Regions from separate parts of the Homo sapiens genome. Here region 2 is linked to region 1. Evidence: promoter capture Hi-C in human tissues and cell types (Jung and others, 2019). All regions are on one chromosome and are shown on one strand. Each heading gives the region's core, a stretch centred on a gene start or on the middle of the fragment in contact. The rest is flanking DNA. Distances are from core to core; before and after follow the strand shown.

The links. Contacts are between HindIII fragments. The study calls those that stand out against the background at their distance.
Region 2: a contact is called between a fragment that was not itself captured here and the fragment with the promoter of SLC25A36 in region 1, in 1 of the 25 tissues and cell types used here (hippocampus).

What each region holds. Positions count from the first base shown.
Region 1 is chr3:140,940,124-140,944,129 of GRCh38, reverse strand. It overlaps SLC25A36 (solute carrier family 25 member 36), which reads right to left and starts at 2,294. Exons shown (of 7, transcript NM_001104647.3): 1 at 2,035-2,294. The coding sequence starts at 2,075. RefSeq lists enhancers at 1,141-1,370, 1,010-1,857, 1,951-2,320. The HindIII fragment of the contact is 6,402 bases long and covers 1-4,006 here.
Region 2 is chr3:141,411,121-141,415,126 of GRCh38, reverse strand. The region is part of intron 5 of ZBTB38 (zinc finger and BTB domain containing 38); the gene reads right to left. Among named protein-coding and RNA genes, the nearest start is that of ZBTB38, 45 kb to the right of the region's middle. The HindIII fragment of the contact is 4,547 bases long and covers 1-4,006 here.

The DNA.
Region 1 (4,006 bases), core at 1,045-3,544:
TTAAAAAGATAAGGTGTGTTTTACTGAACTCACTTATGTAACCACATATAAAAATAAAATCAAGATGAGATGCAAAGGAAGAGAAATTATACGGCTGAGCACCTATCTTGTATCAAATCCTACATACCATATCTCATTTAATACTCTAACTACATATGCTAGACTGGGGGGGAGGGGATGGAGCTCCTAATCTGTGTGTTTAGATGCTACAAACACCTCCCATTCCTGTTCTTAAACCAGAAAACCTATATTTACATGTTTTTATAACAAAATGATGATCCTAATCCAAAGTGGGAAATTAGTGCAATCAAGCTAACATTTATTTCAAATATAAGTATGCCCCATTTTTAACTAAACTTGATACATGAATCCTGAACGCAGAATAATAGAAATGTTAGGAGCTAGAGAAGGGCTTTAGAGATCATATAATACAACCTCCTAATTTTATAGATGAAGCAATTGAAATAAAAGTGTCCATTTTTCACCCAAATTAAAATAGTGCTAGACTACATCTGCGGTCTCCTCACTTCAGGGTTATAGATCTAATTACAAGAGGGAGCTCAATTATTTGCATGAGATCTTTTCAAGAGCATCTACATAGCTACAGAATTTTTTTAAAAAGATTTAATTTGCCTGATTATTGGCAGTAAACATTTCAGAAATATGGAAAGCAAACTGCCTAAACTGGGTCTCACAGATCAATAGAAAAATATTGTTTTTATGCCAGAACAGTGGCCGGCCCATAATTGGTGTACAACAAATATTTGTTGATGAAAGTGTGCCAACCTAAAGAAAGTATTGCCATCACTGGCTCAATAGAGTCCATATGTCCAACTCAAAGCAAGGCACCGTGAATAGAACTGCGTGTGTATTTCTTTCATATTCTTAAAAGTCGATCTAAAAACTGCAGGATTTAAGAAGATGCCGGTAAGAGTCTCAGCATAATTCACCGAAGGCATTTTTGATAAGAAAACTCTTTATAATCCTCCAAATAAGTAACTCTTAAAATTGCTATGATTCTCCAAATGATTTAGAAGGAGCAAATCTAAACAGGAGGCTAAACTGGAAGCTCTAACACTCATTTTGGCAATCAGGGAACTAAGACTTTAGGCTTAGTCCTAATCTTGCACACACATAGTAACTATTAACACTATCTTCAAAAAATCTGACCTCTCTCCACTCCTACTTTCTCCTAAGCAGCAGAAAAGCAAGCGGTGTTCAAGAGGGGTGGTTTTCTCGAAAGGAATCTGACCCCAAAGGTACTGGAAAGCTTTGCACCCCATTCACCACCTGGAAAACCTCGGGCAAGAAATTTTCCAAGGGCTAGAAACACCCTACAGCAACCACGGGAGAATACCAAAGCCTTCCCCGCTCGATCCCGTAGCCCCCTTACCACCCACCTTGCAAAGCCGAGCCCGGAAATGAGCGGCCCGAGGTCCGAGGTGGGGCGTGAGTGACGTGCAGAGGCCCAAGCGAGCGCTGCAAGGAGCGAGGGCTAAAGGAGTCTCCGGCGCCCATTTTGTCCTCAGCCTCCGCACTTTCCGCCCCGTCCCCTTGGGCCATGCAACCTACGCGAAATCCGAAGCCAGGCTCCTCAAAGCGGCCCTGGATCCCCGACGCCTGCTAGATTGCGGCGTGCGGCCAGGTCCAGCGGCGTCCGGGTAATCAAGCGCCGACCCCAGCTCTTGCCCGCGTCTCCTCAGACGCATGGATTCGGCCTCCGCCTCACCCCGGCCCCGCGGGCCCAAAACCTCACTCCCGGCCCGGGTTTCATGCCTCAACCCTCTTTGCCCGGGCCTCACTCTCTCGCCCTCGGGCCCGGGCCTCACCCCCTTGCTTCCCCGAACCGGAGCCCCCCTCACCACCCACGGGCTGGGTCGCTCCCCTCACCCGCAGGCCCGTGGCAGCTCCCCGCCCAGGCCTCACTCCCGCCCCCCCACCCCCCCACCCCCCTCGGCCCCCCTCGCCCCCCTCGCCTGCGTCTTCGGCCCCAGCACCCTCAGCCCCAGTGCGCACGCCCCGCCAGGACCTTACCCTCCGGCAAACAGATGCACCAGCGTGTCCCTCTGGCTCATTCTCTCTCCCGCATGTCCTCCGGCCGCTGAGGCGGGACGCGGATCTGGCCGCCCGCTACGGCAGGCGGCTTCGGTCCCGGACTGGAGACGCACAGCGCCCCGGGGACGGCGAGGAGAGCTGGCCGAGATGCGGCTGCAGAAAGCAACCGGCACAGCCCTCCCCGCGGCACTCCAGCCGCGCCACCGCCTGCCTAAGCGCGCCGCCCTTCACCAGAGGCTGAAAGCGACGCAGCGCAGCGCGACGGAGAGTGGGCGGGGGATGGTAGGGGGAAGATGACTATTTGATGGCTCCCGACATAAACAGAGGCTCCCATTGGTGTGAGCGTCGTGACGTCACGCACTCTGCAGTGTTCTTTCACGTGATCCCTACGGGCTCTTTCAATGAAAGGGGCCGCGAGGCGTGGCCAGAACGCGTGCCCGGAGGGTGGTAGGTCACCGCGCTCCTAGCACCTGAGACCTGGGGCGCCCCTGGCCTGAGTGAACGCGCCAATCACGGCTGCACTCTCCTGAACAGGGAACTGGCGGGGCGGGAAAAATCGACTTGGTTCCGGGTTCGCAAGCGGATTTACTTTGAAAAAATTGGATTTATGACCCAGCAGTTCCCTTGGTGTCTATCTCAGAGTAACCCTCGCACAATGCATAAAAAGGTTTGTGCACGGATACTCCTATATAGGCTCACAAACAGTACAGAATTATGAACAATGCTTGCAGTTGCAGAAAATTGAAATCAGTGGGGGAATGAAGAAATAAATCATGAAACATTCCTACTATGGAATATTATGCAATCGTGACAAGGGATGAGGTGATTCCATATGGCAAAAAATCTCCCGAAGTGTGTAATAAGTAAAAAAGGCAAGTAGAATTAAAATACTTGGGTTTGTTTTTAAAAGAATAAAAGTTCATGGGAAATGGAATTAAAAGATAAAATTTAAAAATATAAACTTTGTTTTTCAACGTAAGCTCCATCAAGTTAAAGACAGTTTGGTAAGTGATGATACCGGCTCTTTAGTCCATCTGTAAAGAATTGAGGGTTCTGGGAATTTAATCATGAAAATGCAGGCTTTTTTACGTTATTAACTGAAGAAAAATGGGTGCCATTTACAGATTTTTCACGATTAGAAAACAAAAATATGTCAGAAGGAGCCAGGTCAGGAATGTAAGATGGATACCTGATAGTTTCCCATCGAAATCCCTGGAAAAATGCCCTTATTTAAAGAGAGGAATGAGCAGGAACATTGTCCTGATGGAGAAGGACTCTCTGGTGAAGATTTCGTAGGTGTTTTTATGCTAAAGCTTTGCTTCACTTTCTCCTATAGTAAGCGGATGTTATTGCTCTTCCACCCTCCAGAAAGTCAACAGGCAAAATACCTTGAGCATCCCAAAAAGCTGCTGCTATGACTTCGGCTCTTGACCAGTCTACTTTTGATTTGACTGGACCACTTGCACCTCTTGGTAACTATTGCTTTGATCCAGAATCATACTGAGAAAGCTATGTTTGATCTCCTGTTACAATTCTTCAAAGAAATGTTTCAATATATGATCCCACTTGTTTACAATTTCCATTGAAAGCCCTGCTCTTGTCTGCAGCTCATCTGGGTGCAACAGTTTTGCACCCATCGGGTGAAAAGTTTGCTCAACTTCAGTTTTTCAGTGAGAAATGTGTAAGTAGAACCAGTTGAAATGTCTATGGTGTTGTATATTATTTGTGCTGTTAATTGTGGGTCCTCTTCAATTAGGGCACACCGAAGAATAATCTTTTCCTCAAAAATCGATGTGGATTGTCTGCCACTGCAGGCTTCCTCTTCAACATTGTCTCATCCCTTCTGCAAACAAGTTATCCATTTGTAAACTTCAGATTTCTTTGGGGGAATTTTCCCCATCAAACTTTTGTAAAGCATCCTTGATTTCACCATTCTTCCACCCAATCTTGA
Region 2 (4,006 bases), core at 1,004-3,503, 470 kb before region 1:
TAGGGAAACCAAGTTCCCTGACCTCTGGTGAAATAATAGCTAGAATGGAGAAGATGATGATGATGATGCCAGAAACAAGAAAAGCTAACATTGACTGAGCACCTTTTACATCCCAGGCCCTGTGCTATGTGCGTCAAAGACATTATGACTCAGCACCGAGAAAGAAAGGGCAGGGTTAAAAGATATGCAGAAAAGAGGGAAAGCACTGTAAATTCCAGGGTGTGTGGAAGGTCAATAAAGTGTCAACAGAGGCAGAGAGGACAATCCTCAGATTGTCCCAGTCTAGGCCTAGTTAAGGAGTCACTGTTTGATATTTCAGAAAACATCCTTGGACCAAACATACCAAAGACCAAGTACACCAGGACGTATCTGCTGTCCCTTGCTGTCATCCATCACCTGATGCCATCCAGGTTAGCCTCTGCAGGCTTGGTTCCATCTGGCTGCCTTAAGACGGACATGCCTGGACACAGAGGGGCTTCCTCTGATGTTCTTCCTGTCTCACCCTGGGATCAGTACACCGAGCACTGGGCAACTTAGTCAGGGCTGCTCTGTCTGATGCCTTCCAGATGTCCCTGGACACAAATACTATGCTCTGCTACTGACCCCACTGACATAATTACTTTGCCTGTATGAAATGGACATAGTTATATCTGAAGTGGCTGACTTATTTGTGGTGACATGGAGAAGGTTCAATGGTCTTTACTTTTCCCTGGGCTGGGCCTTAGACAGCTTCAAGCCCAACGCTCTGCAGGAGAAGACTGGGCAGGTTGCCACTGAGGGAATTCGGATCAGCGGACTGAGTCAAATGGCGTGCAACTGGCATGCAAGAAGCAGTCCATAGGCTCCATTCGGCCTGCAGACGCTCTCATCAGGCCCCTATCTGTGTGAAAAAGTTTCAAACCTCCAGTTTGCCACAATCTAACCACTTGCTTACCTTCTTATACCAAGCCCACATTTGATGTTCATATTACTTTCCTGTTCCTGTATGTATGTGAGTTTTAGATCTTAGTCTATAAAAACGTAAGTATAAATCACATGTAGGTTTTGTTCTGCCTGTGAAATTTTAATCTCTGTACTGTGAGTCATTGTCCTTCTAAAATTTAAATGATGAGATGTCAGTATTCAAGTTTTCAAAACTCTCAGAGTGCTCCGTCCTAATGAAGAACAGGTGTTGAGAAGCCTTACCACAGAATATATTTGGGTGACATACTATTTCTTAAGGATCCCTTTAGTTTGTCCATTCCTATGGGGAAAATTTCTCTACGTAAATCTTCAGAGACAGAGTGGCAGGTATCAAACTCTTCACTTTGCTCCAGTCAGTCACATTAATGATAAAGTCTGTTCAAGCTTCAAGAAAAAGGGGTACTTAACTCCTAATAAGCATTTCATGAAATCAGATTTTCTATCAGAGGCACTCAGCTCTCCTTTAAAACAAGCATCCCACAAGTCATCATGAGCAGGTGTGTAACGGGGGAAGCAACACTCACTGAGTTTTTATCGGTTCCGGTATCCTGAGCTGACATCATGCTCCTTCCTGGGTTACAGTATGTGGGAGTTGACATCATGCTCCATCACTGTGTCACACAAATACAACAGTTCCAAAAAACAGATCATAGAAATAGGGCCTGGACCATCCAGCTGTCAGGTATTCAAAACAATAGGGTCAACACCATGAAGCATCTCCACCAAGATCACAAGTACCCACAAGGAATCCTCAGAACTGCTCAATGAAAATGGTGGCTAAACCCAGGAAGCAGATTTCAGCTTTAGAGACATCAGGGGGATGTGCAGCTGATTCCTCAGTCTGGGGAGCATTCTGACCGTCTGGGGTGTGAGGACCTCCTGCAGGAAGGTGGCTGAGGCTCTCGGCCGGCTGGGTCTTCCCCACCTCCTCCCCACTGTCAACAGACACCTGGCTCCAGGCGCAAAATACCAGCGTACAGAGATCATCTGTATGGGCCTGGGCCCTCAGATATTTATTTAAGTCCACGTACACACTTTCCCTGCACAAACATTTTCTTCTTCCCCATTTCCCACAATTCCTCCTCCCATGTTTCCAGTTTGAAGCCACTGCTGGCAACACTACGACCTCTGGAGGGAGGCCAGGCCTGGCAGCACAGAGCTCGAAGGCAGCACAGGATTGTGAAAGTCGCCTCTTCATAGGCTCAGGAGACGCAGGCGCTTGGCAGAGCTGTCCGGCAAGCCCACCAGTAGGTCTGAGGTACAAAGAGAGGCACAAAGGCTTTCCTACTATGGAAAAGCGACAAAAACTCTGGCCAGTGTTTCAAATGGATGAACAATGGTTCAGATAAAAAAAAAAAACCGAGTGGAAAAAATTGTGGGAGGGAGAAAGAATATTAAGGGAGCTAAGTTCCAGTGAGCTGTTGCCAATTTCACCCCAAAAGAAAGGTAATAGAAACAGAAGGAAAGTTTCTGGCAGTAGTCAGGTGCCTACATAGTTCCCCTATTCACCTGGTTTAGGGTAGAATTATCTGAGCAGAAGGAGCAATGATGTTGGTAAATAAGTTGTCTACATTAAAAAATAATTAAAACTCCCCAAACAAACTCCAAACCACTGCAGGTAAACACTCGCAATATGTTGTTTAGAAAAATTATGCTTTAAATATACTGATCTAAAAAAAAAAAAATCAAAAGAACAGACTGTTCTGTAGAATAGCTTGAGTTTCTGCCTGTGCTTTCATTTTAGAAAACAAATGCTCGTAGACCTCACAGTGGGAGGAGTTTCACACAGGGATTCAGCTCGCAGAAAATGGCCACCGGCTTTGAGAGACCTTAACACAACAAACAGGGCACCCAAGAGACCTTTTGGGAATACGAGGCACTTGCCTTTCACAAGGGTAATCGTCTAGAGATACACAAAACCATTTTTTTTTCTTCCCGACCAGTAACATAAATCATAGCTTCCAAAGTATTTGTTTACAGAATACCACAGTGACTAATTACCAGAACTTTTCTTATTCTCTCTGAGCAAAGGAACCTCATGGGAGAAAAAAAATATAGGTCATTTTTAATGTAAGGGAGTTGCTAGGATTGGAGGTTAAGACAACTATTTAAACTTCATAAAAGGAAAAACAAAAGACCTCAAAAAGTATTTTCTAAAATAGAGAAAGGTGCAAATCTTCTTATCAGAAACGCATTATAAATAGAAAAGAAACTCTTAAAAGAGATTCTTCAAATGTGACAAAAAGCTCTTGGTTTCCTGAAAATGTCAAAAACAAAAACAAATATTGACAATACTAAATATCCAACAGACAGGGTAAGAACTTCACTTAGAAGCAAATTTCCATTTAGGTAATTTATGGTGCTTCTGTGCAAAAAGTTGCTTTACACTGTGTAGTCGCTGAAGACACTCCAGAATTGCTAGACCTTCACAGGAAAAATTTTAAAGGTCAGGGTTTTTTTTCTTTCCCTAGTTAGCACAGCACTCAGGGGCAGCCAGTTCTCTAACGTCTGAGTAAAACCCTACACAGGGCTTCATTTCAGTGCCACGTCATGGCTTTTGCAGACTATCTTCTTGCCTCCGCTTCCTCAAAGTGGTCCTTCTGTCCCCTCCCATTAAAGCAAAGGTGGAACTTGCATTAATTCAAGGGAAGGGCTGAACACACTACAGAAGGCATGGTTCAGCCACAGGCACCGGTTATGGCTGTAACCACTGTAAATCTCTTCCACGAAAGAGCATCAAAGACCTGCACAGAGACCTTGAGAAACCTTGCTCTTTGGGCTCAAGTCAGGGACTATAAGACCAGACTAAATAGGTTTAAGCAGGGACAGATCAGAATGCTGAGTAGGTTTTTCAAAAAGGAAATCCTCATTTAGGTGTCTAGGAGCCAATCACTGTGCTATTAAAACTAATCGGAAATCTCCATGCTTACATGAAAACGCACAAAAGTATGGGGAGACTGATCTGAATATGTGGGTCTCCCTTGCCTGGCAAGATAATGAATTCATCTTTGTTTGGACTGAATTGGTGGTCTTATTATCTAAT